4 separate regions of the Homo sapiens genome follow, and regions 1, 2 and 4 are each linked to region 3. The links are contacts of gene promoters, found by promoter capture Hi-C in blood cells and fetal thymus (Javierre and others, 2016). All regions are on one chromosome and are shown on one strand. The core of a region is centred on a gene start or on the middle of the fragment in contact, and the rest is flanking DNA. Distances in the headings are between cores, read along the strand shown.

Region 1 (3,104 bases), core at 252-2,751, 180 kb after region 3:
GGGAGTTTCCCTTAGCCTTAGTGTTCAGAGTTTTTATTGGGACTGTATTATGTAGATTTGATTAATCGCTTGTCCATGTGGTTGATCTCAGTCTCCAATCTCGATCCTTTACCCCCCTGCTTGGCCCAAAACCCCCATCCAGGATGAAAGGAGCTACAGGAAATCCCAATTAAGTAAATTTACTAAATTTTTCTGATTTTTTTCTGATTTTAGTAATCAGTAAATATTTCTGATTATTAAAATAACTGATGTTAAATTTGAAAAATCTTGGCCAGGTGTGGTGGCTCATGCTTGTAATCCCAGCACTTTGGGATGCCGAGGTGGGTGGATCACCTGAGGTCAGGAGTTTGAGACCAACCTGGCCAACATAATGAAACCCTGTCTCTACTAAAAATACAAAAATTAGCCGGACGTGGTGGTGTGCAACTGCAGTCTCAGCTTCTCGGGTGGCTGAGGCAGGAGAATCGCTTGAACCTGGGAGGCGGAGGTTGCAGTCAGCCGAGATTGTACCATGCACTCCAGCCTGGGTGACAGAGCAAGACTCCGTCTCAAAAAAAAAAAAAATCTAAAAAAATATGAAAAGCATACAACATAAAATAAAAAACACGTCTTACTTCACTATATTTTAAATTATTAGGCAAATTCACTTAAGTATAGTAGCCTATACTTAGAATCCTTTAAGCAGTACTACTTATAATTACATAATTTTAAAAAATATGTGTTTAATTATTTTTCTTTAGACTCTGAGTTCTATGAAGTGAAGAACTGTGTCTTATTCTGTTCACTGCTTTATCCTATTTGTTGACTGATTAGCTAGATAGGTATCCTCTTGCTGTAAGTGTCCCCTGAGGGACAAAACTGCCCACAGTTGAGAATAACCAGCTTGAAGAAATGGTTAGTATGAATAACTGTGTGTAAAGATGGTCTGTGTCACTAAAGAAACAAATGACAATAACAAAATTGTTATTGATATTATTTTTAATACCTTTTAAAACTTTTATGAGATTTTTTCTAAAGTTCTAATGTTATGAAAGATTTTGTATCTTTTAATGAGCTGTTGTTCTCTTTACTTGCTAGAATCATGTTTCCATTTTTTCATTGGTTGCTGGAAACTCAGCTAAATTTGTGCTTGGCTGCAGTGACCTTACTGAACTGGGCTAGTCATCCTACATTTTCTTACTTGCTCTTGTTCTTTTATCCTTGATATTGTATCTAAACATCTTATTAACTACTAAAAATTCTTGATGTGGACAGGTGTATAATTTAGGTAAGTAAAGAATCCTATTCTTTTTAAGCAGCTATTTAAGCAGATAGTAAGTTAGCTAATTGAGTTTTTTGGAATACAGGGATTCTTGCAAATAAATTATTAGAAATAACTCCAAATAAGAGCTATAATTGGGTTAGAGATTAAATGGTTAAGGAACAAATAGTAAAATGTAAGCAGTAAATGATGAAATATGAATGTGAAAATAGGCCTGAGGAGGGTATTATCTATGGAGTTTCATGGTCTTAAGATAGGTGGGGTGAAGAAATTTCTTATATTTTAAGGTTTTTATATTACAGTGATAGAGATATATTATACAGAACTCTTTTCATGGGAGATAGTGGCATGGGAAAAGTACAATTTGAATTTGGAGAGGAAGTACACATAGTGATTAAGAGCACGGGCTTTGGACCATTTAGTAGCTATGCTACTTTAGAGCCTTTCGTAGCAGTACAGCTTTGGGTAAGGTCCTTGATGTTTGTGAGCCTTAAAATGTTGTTGTCTGTGAAGAAGTCGATAATAATACTACCCGTTTCATAGGGCTTTGGGGAAGAGAAATAATACAGGTAAAGCTATTAGCTTAGTGCCTGGCTAATAATAAGTGTTCATTAAATGTTAGCTGTCATTTTAAACAATATTATTTAAAATAATTTGTAGATTAATGATACAATTTTTATAAAATTTTAGTGTATTGGTTTGTATCTGAGGATGTGAAATACATGTGTATATGTATGAATGTTCTATATATATAGAATATTTGTAAAATTACATTATTCAGAATTGACAGATTAAAACAATGTTTTCCTTATAGTTAAGTATTTAAAAATTATTTTTTTCAGTCTACCTAATTGTGTGTCACTATAGACAGTGACAGTGCTCATCACATCTCTATATTACCATGGCTCCTAGCCTGGGGTGTTGTACCTAATAAGTACTCAATAAATTTGATCCTTGACTTACTCTTCAAAAGAAAATTCTTTTTTTTTTTTTTTGACCACTGACTTAAGATAAAATTAAGTATTAACCATCTCATTGGAGAAAAGAATGCCAATAATATAAAATATGGTAATTTGGGAGGTTTTTACATGTGTTTAAAATAAAGGATGTTATTTTCATAGAATATCTATTAGAATATAAAACTCAAAATGGGAAGAAATAATGTGCTAATGATAAGTGTTTGTTATATGCCCTTGCAAAACACTTGCAAAAATATATTCTAGGTAATTAAGACATCAGTAGGGTCTTTGCATATGTATTATCACGCTTTGTAGTGCGTCTTAACATCAAAATTGTTTATGTAAAAGATGAAGAATAACCTTAAAGTCTGTAGTAATGTATGATACCATTGTTTGCAGAAAATGGTTGTAGAAGATGCATTTTATAATGCTATTTCACTCTGCAGTACAAATTTTTAGAACATATTTTGGGGTAACCTTTTGAGTTTGCTTCTCTTAGTTTCATTAGTATCTCAAGAGATAATATACATTGCCAGTGTAGCATAATTTCATTATCCTAAGAAGGAAAATAATATACTTCCTAAACAATCAGAATTGAAGTCATAGTCATAATTTTTTTTTTCTTTAATGGATAAGGCTTCGAGGAAAATTATGAAATGTATTGTGCTTTAGTAGTGTTAGCTGACTGCATTCTCTCTGTGGTTTAGGCTTGATCATGAATGATGTTGGGATCCTCTGAGGGAGAGAAGTGACAGTAAAAGAAGGGTAGTAATTGAGCTCTTTGGGATTGGAACTGCTCACAGTCCCAAAAGATAAAGCACAAGTGGCATGGTCTTTTCTATCTAGGGCTTAAGCTACAATTACTTTGCTTTCCTTTAGAGCAA
Region 2 (3,086 bases), core at 318-2,817, 200 kb after region 3:
CTCAACTAGAAACTCCAATACCATGTTAAATAAAAATGGTGAGAGTAGACATCTTTTGTCTTGTTCCTGATCTTAGAGAGAAAGTTGTCATTTTTCATCCTTATATAAGATGTTCATGTAGGGTTTTTTGTAGATGTCCTTTATCAGGTGTTATATTTCTAGTTTGCTGAGAATTTTTATTGGGAATGAATGTTGAATTTTGTCACATGATTTTTCCTTATCTATTGAGGGAATTATGGTTTTCCTTCTTTAGTTTGCTAATTTTTGAATTACATTGTTTGAGTTTCAAATGTGAACCAACTTCATACCTGGGATAAAATCTATTTGGTCATGATATATATCCTTTTTATATATTGGGTTGATTAGCTAAAATTTTGTTAAGAATTTCTGCATCTGCATCGCTTGAGTCCAGGAGTTCAAGACCAGTCTGGGCAACAAAGCAAGACCCCCCACCTCTATAAAAATCTAGCCAGTCATGGTGGCATATGCCTGTAGTCCCAGTCAGTTGTGTCCTGACATAACAGTGGTTCAACTTAGGTTTTTTGACTTCACAATGCTGTGAAAAGTGATGTGTATTTAGTAGAAATTCTACTTCCAGTAACTGTACAATCATTCTGTTTTATATTTTCAGTGCAGTGTTTAATAAATTACATGAGGTATGCAAAACTTAGGATATTTTCAGCTTACAGTGGGTTAATTGGGACATAACCCCATGGCAAGTCAAGGAACATCTGTGTTTTCATGACAAATTTTGGAATCTGTTTTTTTTTTTTCTTGTAACATGTTTGTCTGGTTTTGTTACTGAGGTAGCACTGGTTTCATAGAGTGAGTTGGGAAGAATTTCCTCCCTTCAGAAAATTGGCATTATTCTTTCTAAAATGTTTGGTGCAAAGTTACCAGTGAAGCCATCTGGGTTTGTAGTTTTTTTTGTGAGAAATTTTTAAATTATAAATTTAATTTATGAAATATAGGGGGTATTCAGGTTATCTATTTTTTTCTTGAGTAAATGTTTTGTGTGTTTTTCATTGGAGTTGTCCATTTTATCTGTGTTGTTGAATAATTTCTTTATCATCGCTCAATATCTCCATAATCTGTAGTGATATTACCTCTCTCATTTCTGATATTAATAATTTGTGTCTTCTCTCTTTGTCCTCATTTATCTGGCTAGTTTTAATCTACCTATTCATTTTTCTCAAAAAGCAGCTCGATTTTATTTATTGCCTTTTGCCCATTTGCTTTTCTGTTTCTTTGATTTCTGCCCAGAACTTTATTATTTCTTTTTTTCTGCTTACTTGGGTTTTATTTGTTCTTATTTTTCCAGTTTCTTAAGATTGAAGTTGTAGTCCCATTGATTTAAGAACTGTCTTTCTTTCTAATATAGATGTTTCTTTCTAAGTATTCTTAAACTGCATCTGATGCTGTTATTTTTAATCAGTTCAAAATACATCCTGGTTTCACTTTTTATTTCTTTTTTGACCCACAACACATCAGAAGTGTGCAATTTCATTTTCAAATATTTGGAGATTTTCAAATCTTTCTGATGAATTTACTCCTTTACCATTATCAAATAACTGTCTTTATCCCTGCCAATATTTTTTGCTCTGAAATCTAGTTTGTCTAGTATCAATACTGCAATACCACTTTTCTTTTGATTAGTATTAGAATAATAATTTTTCATCCTTTAACATATTTGTTTTTATATTTAAATTATATTTCAAGTAGACAGCATATGTAGTCAGTCGGATCTTGCTTTTTTTAAATCCAGCCTGCCAATTGCTGCCTTTAAATTGGGGTTTTTGACATGTTTAGTGTGATTATGGATATGATTAAGTATATCATCTTTATTTTTTCTATTTGTCACATCTGGTTTTTGTTCTCCTTTTCCTCTTTTTCTGCCTTCCTTTGATTTTTCTCCTCTTTTTAACAAAAACAGCTTTATTGAGATATAAATCACATATCATACAAGTCACCATTCTAAAGTATACCATTCAGTGGTTTTTAAGCATATTCAAAAAGGTAGACTGGGGGTGGTGGCTCACGCCTATAATTACAGCACTTTGGGAAGCTAAGGCAGGAGGATTGCTTGAGCCCAGGAGTTGAAGACCAACCTGGGCAACAAAGCGAGACCCCCACCTCTACAAAAAACTAGCCAGGCATGATGGCATGTGCCTGTAGTCCCAGCTCTTCAGGAGGCTGAGGCAGAAGATTGCATGAACCCAGGAGGTCGAGGCTGCAGTAAGTTGTGATTGTGTCACTATACTCCAGGCTGAGTGACAGAGCTAATATCCTGTCCCCCCAAAAAAGTGCAGCCATCACCACCCTCTAATTTTAAAACATTTTCACCAGCCTGATAAACTGTATACCTATTAGCAGTCACTCCTCATTCCCCTTTAACTACTCAGCCTTAAATACTTAAATACTCATTCTGTAATTTCGTTTTCAAATATTTGGAGATTTTCCAGCAACAGTAGTTTACTTTCTATCTCTATAGATTTGCCTATTCAGTACATTTAAGATAAATGGAATCATACAATATGTGGAGTTTTGTGACTGGTGTTTTGTTTTTTTTACTTAAAATAATATTTTCAAGGTTCGTCTGTGTAGCGTGTATCAGTGTCTTCAAGTGATAGTATGCCTATACATAGTGTAAGAACCTTAAGGTAGTCTGCTTTTCTTCTCTTTGTGTTATTGTTACAAATTTTACTTCTGTATACGTTATAAACCCCACAGTGTATTGAATTTATTTTTGTCTAAAAAAATCAGTTAAAGATACTTAAATAATAAGGAAAAAAAAATTTTTAAATTGACCCATGTAGTTACCGTTTTTGGTACTCTTCATTATTTATGTATGGATTCATATTACTATGTGGTATCATTTTTGTTTGCCTGAAGGATGTTAACATTTCTTGAAATGCAGGTGTACTGGTAATAATCAGCTTTTGTATGTCTGAAAAAAATGTTTATTTTGCCTTTATTTTTGAAAGATATTTTCTCTGGGTATAGAATTCTAGGTGGACAGTTTGTTTTTGTTTTCTTTCCATACTTTAAAGATGCTCCACTCTTTTCTTCCTTACATTGTTTCCAAG
Region 3 (3,079 bases), core at 286-2,785:
CCAGTCAGGGGTTCTGCTAATTGAAAGTTAGAATCATAAGACATTTAAAGATTGTGCAGGAACAGCATTATTCGTACTTGGTACTAGAAAGCAGTAAACCGATTCTGACTTGGTTAAATTTAAAAATCTCTTTCAGTTGTAATACACAAGAACTTCACTGTTAGGCCGTACGCGGTGGCTCACGCCTGTAATCCCAGCACTTTGGGAGGCCGAGGCGGGAGGATCGATTGGGCCCAGGAGTTCGACGTCGGTGAGCCATGATCGTGTCACTGCACTCCAGACTGGGCGACAGAGCGAAACCATACCTCATTCGTTCATTCATTCATTCATAATTAATAAAATAAGTACAACGCACTTCTACATAATCTAAGCGTATGGAAATCCACGGTATAAACCGGTCCATCCTCCACATGGAAATTAACTTCGGCTATATTATCTCCTCCACCTAAGAGCCAGTGCCTGAAAGCCCCCCCGAATACGCTGATGTAGCTTTTTACTGTATCACTTAGGTGAAAAGATTCTTTCCTTAAATATGAAAAGAAAAACTATGTAGTAATGACACAAAAAGAATATGTTAACTGTAAAGTCAAGATTATGAAATGTTCCCGTGGCTCAGTTTTTTTAGGAGCAATCTGGAGCTGCGAATTTTCCCGTCGCCGCCAGCTGGACCGACAGACAAGGCTGGAAAGGGTTATCAACATACCTGGAGGAAGCTGCAAATTAGCAGGAAACTGGATTGTCGTGGTGTTGGGGGCTTTCACGGCGACTATCTGAGGAGCAGGCAGCCTAGGGCCGCTGCTGACTTTAGGAGGGGCGCTGACCGGAGCCACTTTGGTCACCAGGGTCCCCACGGGGGACCGCAGGGGCTGGGACGCCGTGGGCTCCACGCAGACGCTGACAGGAGCCTTAGTCACGGCGCCCAGGGCCACCGGAGTGCTCTCCACCCGCACCGGCAGCGCCCCGGCCGGGGCCATGGTCACGGTCCCCGAGGCGCTCACAGCAGCCGGGGGAGCGGCGCCGGCGGGTTCGGTGAGGCCGGCGGGCATCCCCCAGGGGCTCAGCGGCAGCTTTGGCGCTGCGGTTCCGGGAGCAGAGGTGAGGGGAGGCTTGGCGCGCGGCAGCCGACTCCGGTGCGGTTCGGGTTCCACAGCATCGCTGGGGAGAGGCGCGGGGGCCGCAGCAGCGAAGTCAGTGACGGGCGCCCGCTGCACGGCAGGACACGCGCGTCCCGGACCTTCCTCTCGTCCGCGCGAGCCTGGGCTGCCCCCGGAGCGACACCCGCCCGACCTCTCGCAGCTTCCTCAGCGGCGCTCACACGTGCGCTGCCTCAGCCCTGCGCCTCAGGCTCGGGTCCCGCTGCGGGGGAGCCTGGACTTGCGGCTCCCGGAAGGTCGTCGCTCACACCTCGAGCCTAACTGCGCAGCTGCTCCCCCGCCAGAAATTTCAAAACTACGAACCCCGAGTGCCCACAGCCCCCTACGCGCGATTGGCACGGCCCCGCCGCGCGGCCACGCCAGCCATGTTTATATAGCCACGCGGAGACCTCGCGCACGCGCCCAGGCCGCCGCCACCGCCCCGGGTTTCCCCGGGATCCGGCCGCGTGATTGGCCAAGGAGCGGAGCCGCGCCCGTGACGTCACTGGGGACGGCTCCAGGGAGCGTTAAAATCTTCCCCAGAATCGCCAGCAAGGAGGGGCGATGCCAGAAACCTATCACGTGGGAGGGGCAAGCTGCACTTGGAAAACTGCGGCATCCGTGTTCCTCTCCTTGTGTCCCCTGTAGTGTGTTCCTCGAAAAGCCAGCACTAGACTATCTCCAGGATTCTATTTTTTAAGGAGAAAATGGGGAGGACTGATTTCCGAGAAGAGTGACTCAATAAGAATTCAATCACGCATTTTCAGTGTTTTTCTCTGCTGTCTTCACACTGAAGCGTTGCTAAAATTCGCAGTTAGAATTGACATTGTAAAAATTAAAATGGCGTATAGTTTTATAGTCTGTGAGATGTGCCTATTTTCATATTTTAGAGTTAAACTGCCTAAAATCTTAAATGGAAAATCGTTTCTTCTTTGGTGCTGCTATAGGTGTCTCTATCACCTCTAAACATTAAAATTGTATGTCTGTCTTCTGAAAAACTTAATGCCTTTTGATATCTATATAATTAGATTCTAGCACTTAGATATTAAGCGTGATCCTAGATATTATCTGGATAAATAAAAGGTGTTGAGTGAATCGATATGAAAAAACTTGCCTGTTTGTAATGCAGTCAGAGAAGATGCCTTAATTTCAAGCTAAAGTCATTATATTGTATGTTTGTAGGAACCAACACTGCACTGAAAGGCGATTTTACAAGTAGGCAGATGCTATGATCTGAATGTTGTGGTGTTTTGTTTTGTTTTGTTTTGTTTTGTTTTGTTTTGGAAACAGGATCTAACTCTGTCACCCAGGCTGGAGTGCAGTGGCACCATTGGCTCATTGCAGCCTCCACCTCCTGGGCTCAAGTGATCATCCTACCCTCCTACCTCAGATTCCCGAGTAGCTGGAACCACAGGGGAGCGGCACTATGCCTAGCAAAAACGGGATCTCGTTATATTGTCCAGGCTGGTCTCCAATTCCTGAGCTCCCGCCTGGGCCTCCCAAAGTGCTAGGATTATACCCCCAACTGAGTGTTAAAATGCTAAAGCTGGAGTTGATAATATTAGAAGGTTGGGCCTTTGAAAGGTGATTAGATCATAAGGGTGGAGCCCTCATGAATGGGATTCCATTCAGGACAAATCATGTTAAAGTGATGAATATGTTAACTTGATTTAATTATTTCACGACACATACAAATGTAACATGATACCTCATAAATACATACAATTATTATTTGTTAGTTAAATACATTAAATAAATAATTTTTTTAAAAAAAGAAACCTCAGAAAGATCCCTCACCCCTTCCAGCAAGTGAGGTTATGGTAAAAAGACTGCTGTCTAGAAAGTAGACTCTCATCAGATACCACATCTGCCTTGATCTTGAACTTCCCAACCTCTGGAATTATGGGACATGAATTTCTCTTTTTATAAGCTACCCAGTTTATGAT
Region 4 (3,083 bases), core at 195-2,694, 150 kb after region 3:
AGATGATTATAAGACTTTTTCTTCTTTAATCTGTTAATGTGGTAAAATATACTGATATACTTTTAATGCTCAGTCAGTCTTGCATTCTTGTAATTAACCTACTTGTTGATGACCCACTTGGTCATGATGTTTTTAAAGAAATTGCGATATTCAGTTTGTTAAAATTTTGGTTAGGATTTTTGCATCTTTGTTTGTGAGTGTGATTGACCTGTAATTTTTCTTTCTTATAATGCCTTCGTCTGGTTTTTATTTTGAGGCTATGCTAGCTTTATAAAAGGAGCTGGAGAATTTTCTACTTTTTCTTATCCAGAAGAATTTACATAATATTTCTATTTCTTTGTTAAATGATTGGTACAATTCTTTAGAAAAGCCATCTGAATCTGAAGTTTTCTTTGCAAGGAAGTTTTTATTTACTTACTTCTTTAATTGTTATAGGACAATTTCTATATTTTATAAATTGCCTATTTTGGTAAGTTGTGGTTTTTAGCATTTTAATAAATTTGAACATTAATTAGCATGAAAATAAAGTAAAAGCTCTTGAAATAATCTTATTTTCCTAATGTCAACACTGTCTGTAGTGATAATTTTCTTTTTAATGTCATTATTTGTGACTTCTGCTTTGAAATATTTTTTGATCATTCTTGCCAGATGTTTATTATGGGTTTTTTAAGTCTTTTCAAAGAATCAACTTTTGGTTTTGATTGTGCTCTGTTGCAGCATTTTTCAAACCTTTTGGTCTCAGAACCCTGTTACATTCTTAAAAATTACTGAGGACTTAAAAGAACTTGATGTAGGTTATATTGTTAATATAAATTATAAATTTTTCTCAGTTGTGAAATTAAAACAAATCTAAAAAATTTGTTAAAAATAATAAACTTATTGCATGTTAATATAAATAACATTCTTTAAAGGAAAAATAACTATCTTTGTGAGATGAATGGCATCATGTTACGTTTTTGCAAGTTTCTGTTAAATGTCTGGCTTAATAGAAGACACTATATTTTCACATCTACTTCTGCATTCAGTCTATTGTAGTATCTTGTTTCGGTTGTAGCAGAAAATGCAGTCTCACACAGACATGTAGTTAGAAAGGGGAAGAATATTTTAATAGCCTTTTCAGATTTTTGGGGATAACCTTGTTTGATATTACAGCAGAACTCAGTAAGTTTTTTTTTTTTTTTAAGGTTAGTTGTGGTGTGGAATCTTAAATTGTATCATTACATTTTTCTTACTCTGGTACATTTAAGCCCATTGGTCTTTATTACACTTTGAATAGATTTTTACTCATGTATAATTTTATAACATCATGCTTTGGTGATTTGGAAAGTATAAGTTTACTGAGTTAAACAGTTCTTCCAAACATTAACATTTTTCTGTGTGATACCAAAGACTACATTGGTTAAAATCACCTCTAATCTCATCAGAAAAGTGCCTAAGTATGGGGATGCTGTCAAGCTCAAGGTCGTAGATAAGTTTGCACATTCCAAGTTCTTGCTTGGAAATTCAAATGTGATCTTGGCAACAAATGTTATTAGTTGATTTTCTTGCTCACTATGTTTGTTTTTGAGAAAATGTCTGCCAAATACCCATGCCTAGATAAATACAGTTAACAATTGTTCTTTCAAGTAAAAATGGTATTCAGTGAAAACGGTGCCTAGTTCAGCTGGCAACTCAATCACAAACTGCTTTTTCTTGATTATTTTACTTTGTGACAGATAATGTTTATTATTTTCCCATTTTGTCACTGAATATTTATTTACAAGACATGGAGAATTTACAAAATAATTTTTACTGCTTCATCAAGCACATTTTTAACTGAAACTATCTTTTTCTTTCTTCAACTGCAAGTGTGTGGCAGCCAGTAATACATTGACTAATAATAGTTTGATGTCATTGCCTTGATTCATAATGAGGTTCCAGCAATTATATCCACTATTGCTTTTGTACCATCATTATAAATGTGCACTTAGCATAAAAGGCAAACATCATCTTATGGAAATAGTTTTGCCCTTGGGCACCTCATGTATGTTTTTGTTTATGATTAATTTCTGATCTTTATGATTTTCTCCCTTTTACTTTCTTTTGGTATATTTTTTTCTGTTCTTCTGAGTTTTAGATGAATGCCTCTTTCATCAATTTTCACCTTTCTAAGGATGCATTTAAAATGGACATAAGTTTTCCTCTAATCATAGTTCTGATATGTAGTATATTCATATTTATTTAATTCCAAATATTTTCTAATTTTCATAATTATTTTTTAATGCATTGGTTGATAAAAATACATTTCTTAATTTCCAAACATGGATATTTTATTTTCTTGATTTCTGGCTTTATTGCATTGTGGTTAAATAACATTTTACGATTTGAGTTCTTTGGAATTCCTTGAGATTTGTTTCAAGGTCCAGCATATGGTCAGTTTTTACAGATGTTTCATGTGTATTTAAAAAAAATATGTATTGTTTAGCCACTGAGAGCAGAGTTCTATATATGTCTATTAGGTTAGGTCAAGTGTGTTAATCTTGTTTGAATCCTCTGTAGCCTTAATGATTGTTGTTTTTTTAGTCTTTCCAATGTTTTGTTTGTTTGTTCTATCGATTACTGAGAGATGTATGTTTAAAATGTACAAGTCAAATTGTGGACTGACTGATTTTCCTTTTAGCTCTTTTAAGGTTTTTTTTTTTTTTTTTTTTTTTTTTGAGACGGAGTCTCGCTCTGTTGCCCAGGCTGGAGTGCAGTGGTGTGATCTCGGCTCACTGCAAGCTCCTCCTCTTGGGTTCACACCATTCTTCTACTTCAGCCTCCCTAGTAGCTGGGACTACAGGCGCCCGCCACTACGCCTGGCTAATTTTTTGTATTTTTAACAGAGAAGGGGTTTCACCTTGTCAGCCAGGATGGTCTCGATCTCCTGACCTCGTGATCCGTCTGCCTTGGCCTCCCAAAGTGCTGCGCGCCGCCTGCAACATCATTGTGAATTATCCCTTCTTATCTTTAGTAATGCTTTTAAAGTCTACTTTATCTGATATTAGCATAGCTAAATAAGCTTTCTTTGGTGTTTGCATGGTATTATCCTCCTTTCTGTTTTC

What was found. Contacts are between HindIII fragments. The CHiCAGO score rates a contact against its expected background, and 5 or more counts as called.
Region 1: a fragment that was not itself captured here is called in contact with the fragment with the promoter of TAF4B in region 3 in 1 of 17 cell types (non-activated CD4 T cells); the score reaches 6.5 in non-activated CD4 T cells.
Region 2: a contact is called between a fragment that was not itself captured here and the fragment with the promoter of TAF4B in region 3, in 1 of 17 cell types (total CD4 T cells). The highest score is 5.5, in total CD4 T cells.
Region 4: a contact is called between a fragment that was not itself captured here and the fragment with the promoter of TAF4B in region 3, in 1 of 17 cell types (non-activated CD4 T cells). The highest score is 5.6, in non-activated CD4 T cells.

What each region holds. Positions count from the first base shown.
Region 1 is chr18:26,041,789-26,044,892 of GRCh38, reverse strand. All of the region lies in intron 5 of SS18 (SS18 subunit of BAF chromatin remodeling complex), which reads left to right. Among named protein-coding and RNA genes, the nearest start is that of SS18, 47 kb to the left of the region's middle. The HindIII fragment of the contact is 6,803 bases long and covers 1-3,104 here.
Region 2 is chr18:26,023,550-26,026,635 of GRCh38, reverse strand. The region is part of intron 10 of SS18 (SS18 subunit of BAF chromatin remodeling complex); the gene reads left to right. Among named protein-coding and RNA genes, the nearest start is that of SS18, 66 kb to the left of the region's middle. The HindIII fragment of the contact is 3,991 bases long and covers 1-3,086 here.
Region 3 is chr18:26,224,901-26,227,979 of GRCh38, reverse strand. TAF4B (TATA-box binding protein associated factor 4b) reads right to left here and starts at 1,535. Exons shown (of 15, transcript NM_005640.3): 1 at 704-1,535. The coding sequence starts at 1,046. RefSeq lists a silencer at 896-1,055 and enhancers at 1,706-1,805, 1,836-1,905. The HindIII fragment of the contact is 8,704 bases long and covers 1-3,079 here.
Region 4 is chr18:26,072,410-26,075,492 of GRCh38, reverse strand. The region is part of intron 3 of SS18 (SS18 subunit of BAF chromatin remodeling complex); the gene reads left to right. Among named protein-coding and RNA genes, the nearest start is that of SS18, 17 kb to the left of the region's middle. The HindIII fragment of the contact is 3,197 bases long and covers 1-3,042 here.